Linked DNA regions of Homo sapiens: region 1 is linked to region 2. The links are contacts of gene promoters, found by promoter capture Hi-C in human tissues and cell types (Jung and others, 2019). All regions are on one chromosome and are shown on one strand. Each heading gives the region's core, a stretch centred on a gene start or on the middle of the fragment in contact. The rest is flanking DNA. Distances are from core to core; before and after follow the strand shown. Region 1 has its middle 58 kb from the start of LINC03111. Region 2 holds the start of MC4R (melanocortin 4 receptor).

What was found. The method cuts DNA at HindIII sites, captures the fragments that hold promoters and counts their contacts. A contact is called where the count stands out against the background at its distance.
Region 1: a fragment that was not itself captured here is called in contact with the fragment with the promoter of MC4R in region 2 in 2 of the 25 tissues and cell types used here (small bowel and spleen).

Annotation. Positions count from the first base shown.
Region 1 is chr18:60,063,663-60,070,779 of GRCh38, reverse strand. No RefSeq gene overlaps it. Among named protein-coding and RNA genes, the nearest start is that of LINC03111, 58 kb to the left of the region's middle. RefSeq lists enhancers at 2,911-3,462, 3,782-4,318. The HindIII fragment of the contact is 4,514 bases long and covers 2,694-7,117 here.
Region 2 is chr18:60,368,668-60,375,499 of GRCh38, reverse strand. MC4R (melanocortin 4 receptor) reads left to right here and starts at 2,725. Exons shown (of 1, transcript NM_005912.3): 1 at 2,725-4,438. The coding sequence starts at 3,151. The coding sequence ends at 4,149. The HindIII fragment of the contact is 8,670 bases long and covers 1-3,593 here.

The sequences.
Region 1 (7,117 bases), core at 3,701-6,200, 310 kb after region 2:
GCCAGGCTCAATCTACCTCCATTTATTTCTCTGCTGGAGCATAGGGCTCCCTCCAGCAGAGAAATAATGGGAGGCAGATTGAGCCCAGGTCTTAGAAAAACTCAAATTCCAAGTCAAGGACTTGGGAAATGATTTTTACATCAGGTTTTCGCAGAAGTGCATTCCAGAGGCCAACGCTCAGGAACAATTAATTTGTAGTGGTTTCTAAGAAACACCAGGGGAGAAGGGATTGTTACATATATAATCTAATTTAATAGGGAGGCTCCAAACTTACTTTGTTTAAAGATTTCACAATGTTCAGAATTTAAATAGTAATAGCAAATGACAAATATGTTTATATTTCTATTTGATATTTCTCATTTACCCATTAAAATGATTCTGCTTTATTTACAAGTAGAACATATATTCTGATTTTGTGGCTGCAAAAATAAAACACAGTCCAACTTAAAGGATAGTATCGTGTTCAAAACATAGCTGAAAAGAAAAGCTTAGCACATAAAAGATGCAATTGAACATAAACTGCATTTATCTGCCATCAATTTTTAAAATGACTTTGGATCATACAATAAATAAATGTTCTTTACATAAATTAGAACATTGACATTAGTAAGTGAGAATATAGAAAATATCCATAATCCTGTGACCCAGTGGTAACCACAATTCACCTTTTGATATATATTTTTTCACACTCAACTTTTATATATCTTTTTGTACAAATATTACAGTAGATACTGTTTGGAAACTTGCCTTTCTCACTTAAAAGTATGTCATTTCCACCACAAGAAGTATCTCTTTCTACCTCATTTTAATGATTACATAGCAAACACTGCAGAGATAAACTACCATTTTTTTTTATTTTTTTATTTTACTTTAAGTTCTGGGATACATGTGCAGAATGTGCAGGTTTGTCACATAGGTATACATGTGCCATGGTGGTTTGCTGCACCTATCAACCTGTCCTCTAGGTTTTAAGCCCCACATGCATTAGGTATTTGTCCTAATGCTCTCCCTCCCCTTGCCCCCCACCCCCTGACAGGCCCTTGTGTGTGATGTTCCCCTCCCTGTGTCCATGTGTTCTCATTGTTCAACTCCCACTTATGAGTGAGAACATGCAAAACTACCATTATTTTAACCAGTCTACTGTTTTGATTGCTTTGATTATTCCTGATCGCATCAATGCTATATAAAATGATTACTGGAAACAGCCACCAAAACAAAGTTCTGGTTATGTAAGCTAAGTGAGTGCTGGAAGAAAATTGCAAGCAGCTCTTGTTTTCTAAATCTATGTGCATGAGTTTTCCAGGACTGTAATAACAAATTACCACAAACCAGGTGGCTTAAAACAACAGAAATTTATTCCCTCATTGTTTTGGAGACTAGAAGTCAAAAATTTCTTGTTAACAGGGTCAGGCTCCCTCTACTGGCTCTAGGGAACGATCCTTCCCTCTGTCCTCACTTTTGGTGGGAGCCAGCATTCCTTCACTTGTAGCTTCATCCCTCCAATCTGCCTCCATCTGCATACGGCCTTCTCCCCTGTGTGACTCTGTCTCTTCATATGATGTTTTCCTCTCTGCATATCTTTGTGTCCAAAGTTCCCCATTTCTCTTTTCCTTGTAAGGAAAGAGTCATTGGATTTAGGGCCCACCCTAATCCATTGTGACCTCATCTTAACTTGATCACATTTTCAAAGACTTTATTTCTGTAAGATCACATTCACTAGTACAGGGGGTTAGGGCTTCAACATATTCAGACAAAAGGGGGAAGCATAATTTAACCCACAATACATGTGAACCTTAAAATAAGGGAGCATTCTAGTCATCAACAAGGCATCGGATCCTGTAGCTGAGCAGCAGCAAAAAAGACCTGGGAGTCTTGCAGCAGGTAAAAGTTCAGAAATGGCCCATTCAGAGTGGCTCAGAAACTGGGTTAAAGCTGAGTCCGTAGGAGGCAAGATCAGTGGGCTGGAATGTGGGGAAGTGGGAACAGGGCAACTAGGGCTGGGCTGACCCAACTACCCTATTTACTCACCCCATCTTCACACACAAATCCCATCCATCCTGTAAAGTACAGAGGTTAGTCCCATAAAGTCATCTCTTAAAATTCATCTAGGCCAGGTATGGTGGCTCACACCTGTAATCCCAGCACTTTGGGAGGCTGAGGCAGGCAGATCACCTGAGCTTGGGAGTTCAAGACCAGCCTGACCAACATGGAGAAACCCCGTCTCTACTGAAAATACAAAATTAGCCGAGTGTGCTGGCACATGCCTGTAATCCCAGCTATTTGGGAGGCTAAGGCAGGAGAATCACCTGAACCTGGGAGGCAGAGGTTGTGGTGAGGTAAGATCACGCCTTTGCACTCCAGCCTGGGCAACAAGAGCGAAACTCCCTCTCAAAAAAAAAAAAAAATTCATCTAACTAACACTTATCTCTTTAAATTCCTGTGGTGTGCTCCATCTATCACAACTTCATTTAAATATTGTATTACAAGCTGTCTTTTCATATATTTTAATTGTCTTATCTCTTCAATAGTCTTGCAAGATGCTTGAGATTAGATGCTGCACCTGATTTTTCTTTGTTATCTCCTAACAGCAACCATCTCAATGCTGGGCATTTAGAAACTATCTGTTGCATATAAAACATCTATTGAAGAAAATAATTATTGACTTGACTAAGAGAAGGTGACTAAGCCTCCAACAGAAGATGCCTCCGACAGATCCAGCGCATAATGAGCAGAGCAGGTGACCTGGAGTCTGATCTCCGGAGTCATCACTTCTAACCTTGGAGGAAATCCACGATGGCTCTCTCACTTGTATTCATCTCCCATCTGCAGCCACTCTATAAATTACTCTCTCCATGTAATCTTTGTTTGACATTTCTCTTCCCCAAGCAGGATTTCAGTCACACACTTTGAGGTTTTATATAGAAGCTAGACTCAGAACACACAAGAGGTTGCTGTGAGAACGAGCATTTGTGTGGTCCAAGCACAGCCTGCAATTTTGCACTCAGTCAGCACCTAGGAGGAAAAAGCCCCGTGCACTTCAGCTGTATCTTCCAAGAGTGCCAACACGGCTGCCCCATGAAGCCAACCTTCCCCTGTGAATGAATAGGCAACCTGAGATGCAATGAGTTTCCAAAGCCAGACCTGAATACAGCCCGGATTGCTAGCAGAAACCTGCCTAGACTAATTCACAGTCACCATTTGACTGCATTCTCCTGCCTCTCAGCTAACAAAGGCATTATCTCCCAGCACTTCTAAGAGCTAAATTGCTCTTTTAACAGCAATTATAAGAGTGCTAACAAAAAGCTAAAGATTTGGAGAATCAATGTGCTTCTTTTACTTCTAAATCATTGTATCAGATTTCCTCCTTGAATTATAATTTTATGCTGTTAATGAAGAAAATGCCTCCTTTCAGAGCACTGAATAAGAAAGGTACATTTTTGTACATTCTAAGCCTCCTTTTAAGAAAAATCACTTTTATCTCTCCATTTTATGGGCATAAAGAGGGAAATCATATTTTGAATAATTACAGGAAACAGTCTGCTACAAATGGTATATGTGATAAAATACCTGTTAGCTACAATTAAGTTAAAATTTTAGGGAAAATCACAAAGTAGATCAATTTATTCCCACACATCATTCTCCAACTTCATGTACAATTAATTAGAGGATAATGTGAAATATAAGCATGGAGCCATGTGCTTTTATTGCATTTCAACTAAAATCCTTGGTCCTTACTGTCAGAGGCATGTGAACAACAGCAACTGCATCTTGAATAGGAACTACATAAAATGAGGCTGAAACCTATTGAGCTGCATTCCCAGACAGTAAAGGCATTCTAAATCACGGAATGAGATAGGAGGTCAGCATAAGATACAGACCTTGCTGATAAAACAGGTTGCAGTAAAGAAACCGGCTAAATCTCCAAGATGGCCACGAAAGTACCTCTGGTCATCCTCACTATTACACTCCCATCAGGGCCATGAGAGTTTACAAATGCCATGGCAATGTCAGGAAGTCACCATTTATGGTCTAAAAAGGAGAGGCGTGAATAATCCACCCCTTGTTTAGCATATCAACAAGAAATAACCATAAAAATGGGCAACCATCAGCCCTCAGGCCTGCTGTCTATGGAGTAACCATTCTTTTATTCCTTCATTTTCCTAATAAACTTGCTTTCACTTTACTGACTCTCCCTGAATTCTTTCTTGTGCGAGATCCAAGAACCCTCTTTTGAGGTCTGGACCCGGACCCCTTTCCTGTAATGTTACTATCTCTGATTTCATGATTCTGATGTTTAAATTACTTGTAAAATAAATCCCTATTTAATAGTATCTGTGACTATACCACATAAATATTTCATCAGTTAGGGCTATTCTTGTGCAATAAACAGTTGATAGACTTAAGCCCGCCAGATACAGTATTTATCTGCAATTAAAATGTATCATGTAATTTTTTTTTTTTTTTTTTTTTTTTTTTGAGACAGGGTCCCTCTCTGTCACATAGGCTGCAGTGCAGTGGTGTGATTATTGCTCACTGCAGACTCGACCTCCTGGCTCAAGGGATTCTCCCATCCCGGCACAACCTCCTACCCCTGCCAACCCTCTAGTAGCTGGGACTAAAGGCACACTCTACCATGCCCAGCTAATTTTTGTATTTTTGTGTTTTGTTTGTCTGTTTGTTTGTTTGTTTTTGTAGAAATGGGGTTGTGCCATGTTGCTCAGGCTGATTTCAAACTCCTGGGCTCGAATCTCAGCTTCCCGAAGTGTTGGAATTACAGGTCTGAGCCACTGCACCAGGTCTGACAATGTTTCTATTTTTAAGATGTTGTCAAAAGAGGTGAACCTCACTTTGACTGTGAGGTTTTTGAAAGACTTGGAAAAGAAATTGATTTATATAAGCTTGTCCAACCCATGGCCTGCAGGCTACATGCAGCCCAGAACAGCTTTGAATGTGGCCCAACATGAATTCCTAAACTTTCTTAAAACATTATGAGATTTTTTTGCAATCTTTTCTTCTCATCAGCTATCATTAATGTTATATGTATTTTACTTACATGTGGCCCAATACAATTCTTCTTCCAATGTGGCCAGGGAAGCAAAAAGATTGGACACCCCTGGATTAATAGGTACCTTAGTTTCAGAGTAATTCTTTTCTAATACAGTTCATCTATTATTTAAAAGGAAATAGAGTGAATGTCTTTGAAAGTATAATCAGAGAAGAGCCAGCTGTAATCGTCAAAATTTTGTAATCCAAGAAAGAGTCCACCAGTATTATTAAAGCCACCCTGCAACTCATTGGCCAGTGATCTGAGAAACAACTCTATGCTAGTTTTACTTTTCTCTTTGAAATACTTTCTACAGATTTCAAAGTCAGTAAAATTACATATTCTTTTAAAATTTTTTATTTAACCCTAATGCAACTAGGTTGTTCAACAATATTTCTTCTACTGTCTGATCCACAAAAATAATAAACACAACACATATTCAAATTTGATGAGTAAGGCGTGCCTGGTTTCATGGTGTGCCAGACTAAAAGGAAAATGTAAAGAAAACAGATCTAGAAGACCAAGAACAGAGAACTTGAACTAGTTTTCAGGTTTTTTTGGTTTTTTGGCGGGGGGGGGGGTTTGGTTTTTTGTTTGTTTCTTTAAGATGGAGTCTCACTCCGTCGCCCAGGCAGGAGTGCAGTACTGCAATCTTGGCTTACTGCAATCTCTGCCTCCCAGGTTCAAGAGATTCTCCTGCCTCAGCCTCCTGAGTAGCTGGGATTACAGGTAACTGCCACCACACCCAGCTGTTGAACTAGTTTTAGTGATAATTTCTCCATTCAAATCATTATAGTACAAACTAGAATATTCATAGTGGAATAGTGAATTTAAATTCATAGTGGAATAGTGAATAAGATTCCACTAGAGTATTCATAGTGGAATAGTGAATTTAGATTTAACTTAGCAGTGTGCATGGGGGGTTGAATCAACTATCTGAGATATGGCAACAAGAGTTTCCATGTAGTGATAAGACATAGGAAAGGGATTGTAAACAATGTGATTCCAAGAGGATCTATTTTGAACCGGATTCTAGTACACAGCTGAAAATATAGAGATAATTCAGGCAAACATTGAGAAAAAGATTGTCAAAGTTAACTAGGGGAAAATATGGAAGGCTTTCAAGACAGAGATCCAGTCTTAAAGAGAGGACTAACTGGAGGACAAATGGAGGGCCTGAGCCAGCATCTCAGTCATGGATGAGCAACACGGAAAGCCTATGCTTCCTTGGTTCTGCAGATTTACCCCAGGCACACTGGCAATTGTGCCTACAGCAGATTGAGTCATTCAAGACCATTAACCATTAATGTGAAGATGGTTTTCACATCATTCAGGATTGACTTGGGAACTGTGGGTGGTAAACTGAGGGGTGATGAGTAAGCCTAAAGCAATGAGTAAATAAACTGATTCCAGAATTTAAAATGGGGCCAATTTCATTGTGAGGATTAAGAAGGCAAGTAATAATATATACCATCCAACACAACAGATGACACAGTAATTATTTTGATTGAACTTTGGAATATAGCTTATAGTTGGTTCATCATTCATCAATTTGTGGTTCTGCTATCTACTATTATCTACTATTCTATCTACTCCCAAAAGAAGAGAAAGGTCTTATGTATTTATGTGCATTTATTTAGAAAAATCTCTCATGGTTGTATACATATTTATAGTTACATGTAAAATAAAATGCATAGATCACTGTACCTGGAATGCTACCATTTATGTAAAGAAGGGATGAAAATAAGATAAATTTCTGTTTTCTTCTATATGCATTAAAAAATCTCTGGCATAAGGAGCCTGAGGCAGGAGGATAGCTTGAGCCCAGGAGTTCAAGGCTGCACAATCCAGCCTGGGTGACATAGCAAGACCTGTCTCAAAGAAGAAAAATCTCTGGCAAGATCAGCAAGGCATGCAGGAACAAAAACCCAATATATAGGGGCAGGAATGAGAGAGAGAGACTTCTCAATGTATATTCACTTTCTACTTTTGGAAATTTTATTTATGTAATTGTTTCCTCTTTAAAAAGTAAAGCATTTTAAAATATAAAGATACTTAATGTATGTATTTAAA
Region 2 (6,832 bases), core at 1,476-3,975:
GCTAAAATAAAAAAGATGGACAATAGCAAGTGCTAGCAAGAATGTGAAGAGATTTGAACCCTCATACATTGCTAACTGGAAATGTCAAATGGTGCAGCCACTTCAGAAAACAGTTTGGCAGTTCCTCAAAACAAGAAACAGAGTTATCATATGATTCAGCAATTCCATTCCTGGTTGTGTATCCAAAAGAATTGAAATCATCTGTCACATAAGAATTTGTCCATAAATATTCCTAGCAGCATAATTCGTGATAGCCAAAACTGGAAATAACCCAAATGTTCCTCAACTGATGAATACATTTAAAAATATAATGTATACAGCCAGGTGCAGTGGTTCATGCCTGTAATCCCAGCACTTTGGGAGGCCGAGGCGGGCGGATCATGAGGTCAGGAGATCGAGACCACGGTGAAACCCCGTCTCTACTAAAAATACAAAAAATTAGCAAGGTGCGGTGGCGGGCACCTGTAGTCCCAGCTACTTGGGAGGCTGAGGCAGGAGAATGGCGTGAACCCAGGAGGCGGAGCTTGCAGTGAGCTGAGATTGCACCACTGCACTCCAGCCTGGGTGACAGAGCGAGACTCCGTCTCAAAAAAAAAAAAAAAAAAAATATATATATATATAAATGTATACATACAATGGAATATTACTCAGCCATAAAAACAAATCAAAACTGGGCACAGTGGCTCATGCCTGTAATCTCAGCACTTGGAGAAACCGAGATGGGAATATCGTTTGAGCCCAAGAGTTTGAGACCAGCCTGGACAACATAATGAGATTCAATCTCTACAAAATTATTTTTTAAAAGCTAGCTGGGTGTGGAGGTACATTTAGTTCCAGCTACTCAGGAGGCTGAAGTAGGAGGATCACTTGAACCTAGTGAGCCATGATCATGCCACTGCACTCCAGCCTGGGTGACAGAGCAAGATCCTGTTTTAATTTTTTAAAAATCAAATTCTGATTCACATTATAGTGTAAGCAAACCTTGAAAATATTATGCTACATGAAAACAGTGAGCCACAAAAGGCCACATATTGCATTATTTCAATCATATAAAATGTCTAAAATAGGCACATTGATAGAGACAGAAAGTAGATTAGCAGTTCCTAGAGGATAAGGAAAGGGTAAAATGGGGAGCAACTGCTAATGGGATAATGAAAATGTTTTAGAAATAGAAAGTGATGATTATGGCACAACTCTGTGAATATATTCCCCCAAAAATCCATTTAATTACTAAAGAGGTGATTTTTTTTGGTATGTGAATTATATGTCAATTTTTAAAAAGAGAAAAAATAAGGCAAGAGGAAGGTAAGATTATTTCCAGCTCATGATGTTCAGGAAAGCCCATTCCAGCATTTTACAATATACAGATGATTAGGCATTCAGAAATACAGGGGAAGGGAGTTGGAGGTGTGAGTTCTGCTCTGTGCAATCATTCAAGAGACAGGCTCCTTTCATGATATGGTCCTGCCACCTGTAACATGAGATTTCAAAGACAGGAGAGAAAACTTGTGTAAAATTATGAAAGAGCTAATGCGATGAGCCCCACTGTCAACATGCCATTAGCTAGAATTTAGTCATAAGGTCCTACCCAATTCCAAAGGTGGATGGAAGACGTTAATTTATCTCAATGCTCAGGAACAATACTTAGTATTGTCTCTGTCACAAAAGGAAAGAGGATACATTCCCAACCTAAGTAACTGAGATTCAGAATTAACCCTGAAATAAGCAGCTACAAACTATAGAGCACTAAAACCAAAAATAATCATAGAAGAAAAGAATATACAAAATTTTGTATAATCTGTTGTTCAGTTAATTTGGAAAGTAACTTTGCTGCCATCTTTCAAACCACCTTAAGCAAAATATTCAGAAACTTCAATAACTAACTAGTATCACCAGTCTTGGCTTGATAAGTAAAGTTACTAGGTATTTGTCGGTTCAACTTACGATACGTTAAACTCTGGAGGTTTAAAAAAAAGTTGCTTAAAAAAAAAAAACAGAATGCAGCTTATTATTTTCCTGAGTTCAGTGTAAGCATAGTTACATTAATGCCGTATGAGTTTAAAATATTGTAAATAAAAAGCACCTTTTTTCAGCTATAACACAAACTCCTCAATAGAGAAATATGGGATATTAGTGCATTAAAATCAACCCCTTTTGAACCCATTCATAATTTATAGCTACCTACATAGTTCTTCCAGCCATACCATGTCTATCTGTATCATTAAATATCCTCTCTGTTTTTCAGGTATTTTAACTGAACCACTACTGGCTGGGTTCTTAATAAAAACAAAAAATTAAGAAGGTAAATAAATTCAGTATCCTAGCCAAAAAGCAGAGTATCTGTTTCAGGAACATAAGACAGTATACTTTCCATTTCATTTTACACACACACATGATGTCTTTTACATAAGAATGAACCTGGCTGCCTGAAGATAGCTTGTTTTGATATCACAGAATGGCCTCTAGGGATCAAGTTGTTTCCCTTGAAAACTTAAAAAGGGAAATTCAGTCTCTTATCCGGCTTGCTTCTCGACTTCAGACTTCAGGAGCTTCTGCATCTGAATCTGTGTCACCCTGCAATTTGTGTCTCTGAAACATAATCCTGTCTCACAGACTCCCATTGCATTGGGATTGGTCAGAAGGAAGCAGAGGAGGAGCCACCGTGAACATGTTTTTTTTCTCTCCACACATCATAAAAATCAGCAGCTGGCGCCTACAGCCCCTAACACTCAAAGCAACGCTCAGGCTGGAAACAGAAGCTTCCGAGAGGCAGCCGATGTGAGCATGTGCGCACAGATTCGTCTCCCAATGGCATGGCAGCTTCAAGGAAAATTATTTTGAACAGACTTGAATGCATAAGATTAAAGTTAAAGCAGAAGTGAGAACAAGAAAGCAAAGAGCAGACTCTTTCAACTGAGAATGAATATTTTGAAGCCCAAGATTTTAAAGTGATGATGATTAGAGTCGTACCTAAAAGAGACTAAAAACTCCATGTCAAGCTCTGGACTTGTGACATTTACTCACAGCAGGCATGGCAATTTTAGCCTCACAACTTTCAGACAGATAAAGACTTGGAGGAAATAACTGAGACGACTCCCTGACCCAGGAGGTTAAATCAATTCAGGGGGACACTGGAATTCTCCTGCCAGCATGGTGAACTCCACCCACCGTGGGATGCACACTTCTCTGCACCTCTGGAACCGCAGCAGTTACAGACTGCACAGCAATGCCAGTGAGTCCCTTGGAAAAGGCTACTCTGATGGAGGGTGCTACGAGCAACTTTTTGTCTCTCCTGAGGTGTTTGTGACTCTGGGTGTCATCAGCTTGTTGGAGAATATCTTAGTGATTGTGGCAATAGCCAAGAACAAGAATCTGCATTCACCCATGTACTTTTTCATCTGCAGCTTGGCTGTGGCTGATATGCTGGTGAGCGTTTCAAATGGATCAGAAACCATTGTCATCACCCTATTAAACAGTACAGATACGGATGCACAGAGTTTCACAGTGAATATTGATAATGTCATTGACTCGGTGATCTGTAGCTCCTTGCTTGCATCCATTTGCAGCCTGCTTTCAATTGCAGTGGACAGGTACTTTACTATCTTCTATGCTCTCCAGTACCATAACATTATGACAGTTAAGCGGGTTGGGATCATCATAAGTTGTATCTGGGCAGCTTGCACGGTTTCAGGCATTTTGTTCATCATTTACTCAGATAGTAGTGCTGTCATCATCTGCCTCATCACCATGTTCTTCACCATGCTGGCTCTCATGGCTTCTCTCTATGTCCACATGTTCCTGATGGCCAGGCTTCACATTAAGAGGATTGCTGTCCTCCCCGGCACTGGTGCCATCCGCCAAGGTGCCAATATGAAGGGAGCGATTACCTTGACCATCCTGATTGGCGTCTTTGTTGTCTGCTGGGCCCCATTCTTCCTCCACTTAATATTCTACATCTCTTGTCCTCAGAATCCATATTGTGTGTGCTTCATGTCTCACTTTAACTTGTATCTCATACTGATCATGTGTAATTCAATCATCGATCCTCTGATTTATGCACTCCGGAGTCAAGAACTGAGGAAAACCTTCAAAGAGATCATCTGTTGCTATCCCCTGGGAGGCCTTTGTGACTTGTCTAGCAGATATTAAATGGGGACAGAGCACGCAATATAGGAACATGCATAAGAGACTTTTTCACTCTTACCCTACCTGAATATTGTACTTCTGCAACAGCTTTCTCTTCCGTGTAGGGTACTGGTTGAGAATATCCATTGTGTAAATTTAAGCCTATGATTTTTAATGAGAAAAAATGCCCAGTCTCTGTATTATTTCCAATGTCATGCTACTTTTTTGGCCATAAAATATGAATCTATGTTATAGGTTGTAGGCACTGTGGATTTACAAAAAGAAAAGTCCTTATTAAAAGCTTAACAATGTCTCCTTCGTGTTATTCATAAGCATTGGACACTTTGCGTGCTTTCGTAACATAGAAATCAGAGCCTCATTAAACATATTCTAATAAATGCTTTATTATATTATATTATCCACCATTGAAATGTAGAGAGTTCATTCTAGCAGTTAAGGGAAAATATTTAAAGAATAGATGTATAATCATTTTTAAAAATATCATCACTGAAATTTCAAGTAATTTAATTAAAGGTTTGTTCATCCTCCCTGTGCAGAAGTAGAAATGAAGCTCCTCTAGAGAGAAAAACAGGTGCTGAAAAAAGAGAGATGCTGAGTTAGAAAACTATGTGTACTTCTCAGACACAGAAAGATTCATCTCCCTTAGCAAACAGCCTGATATTTCACACAGGCAATTCGGTTTGGGGTGGGTGGGAAAAGGCAGCTATAGGGATGAAAGTGTCCTGGAAAACCTAAGTTGCCATGTCAAGCTAAATTTCCTGTTACCAAATTATCCCTAAACAATATTAATAAAACAGAGAATGGGGATTTATGCCCCCTTTAAACAAGGATTCAGGGTCTGCTGAAGTGTCCAGAAAAGGTAATATTGTACTGAGAGATTTAGCTTCCTGTTTCTAGAGAAGTACAGGACTGACATCGAATTCTTTCTCATTTCACATGAAAATGACTTGCTGTTTACTTATTGCTGATTTTTTGAACTGGAGTACAAATGTTGATTATCAAGGATTTTAAACTTCAAAACCAAATTCATAGCAGAAGTGTTTTCTGGCAATATTTGTAAATAACTAAAATAAAGGTATCTGTGATGCTGGTACATTTTAAGCAGGAAGGGAGGCACCTACCAAACCCCAGAGGATGTCATGCAATAAACTAGCCTTCCACAGCCACTTCTTGAAGAGTAAAATGTTTTGCTCCAAAATAATCCTACAGATTTGGCCACTGAGCAATAAAATTTGTACTGTACTTTCTAATCTGTGTGTAATTTAAAATAAAGCAAAAGAATATATTAGGTTGAGGATTACCAGTAAACTATCTTAGGATTTACAGGGTCTTCAAATGCTCATGGGCAGAAGTCATATGCAAAGGTACTCCTTAACTCAAATCTAAATGTTTTACACTGATTATAAGACCCAAGAAACACTTTCAACATTCATCTGAAAACACTACCTTAAAGGATAATAGTGAAGTTAAAGTTTACACATAAGAAGTGGTACTAAAGCTGAAATTTTAATTCCACTGCAATTCCTCTATTTTGAAGCAAAAGTGAATGTGAGGATTTAAATATACACTAATCTAACAATCATAGTCTATAGCAGTAGAGGGACACAGTTATGTTTTTTTCATTGCTACGTTTCCTGTCCATTCTTTCATTTCATGAATCTGAAAAATCCCAGGGACTAGAGATATGAAAAAGAGAGCTATGAGCACACCCCATCTTCTGTGGTGGCTGCCCTTCCCAGTTTATCCTATTTCTCCTCCAAGTGCCATCTCAGATCCTGGCTCCTCCTTCTTCAGGTTCATACCTTCTCCTGGAGTGGTTTACAGTGTTAGGGTGTGTATAATTCATGAACGAGCCATATAACAGCACCCTCCCCTATATGCCATGGTACCATATTGGACTTCAGCTCCTTTAAGTGCAGAGACTGTCTCTTACTCAGTTTTTCTATTCTCCAAGTCTTCCTCTATTCAAGTTGCTTCCTTTTGTTCAAGTAAAAACAAGATTCCCTCAGAGGCCAGGCCTTACCCAAGCCACCTCTAAGCTCCATTCCACATCCAGTGAGATTTGGAGCCCCACCAGCTCTAGCTGGATTGTTATTGTATCAATTGGGGAAGTGTTATGGTTTAAAACTGTAGGCTTAAGCAAGTATATTTAGGATGAATACAGGAGGGAGCAGAGAGTGAGAGTGGGGCTGGAGATTTGGAGGAAACAAGCTTGAAGTACACGAAATGAAGATACTGTAGTGACCATGGCTGCTAGAGCAGATGCAGAGAAAGTGGTTATTCCAAGTAGGTAATTTTAAATATATTAGGAGCAAAGAACTGAAATTCACAGAATTGTATGAGAACATTCCCCTCAAGGAAAGGGGATTCTATTTCCGCTCCATTCACCTTACATCTAATAACAACATGTCATCACGACTTCAGACCTTATCCAACCATAATATTCAGATTCCTGTTTGGAATCCCCAGTTCCATATTGCAGTCTCACTTTCCTTGCTGTTTTATTTTTGTGCATTCTGTCTCTTCTGTTAGGATGTGAGCCCCTTAAAGAAAAGCCTTATGCTCATATTTTTATTGCCACAGGGAATAGCATATTTCATATTTAACATATTAGAGAGACTAAAAAAATCTAGAGAGAGAGAAAATATTCTTGACTTCTGAAAGTGGTTTCCCATTTAGTCTCACC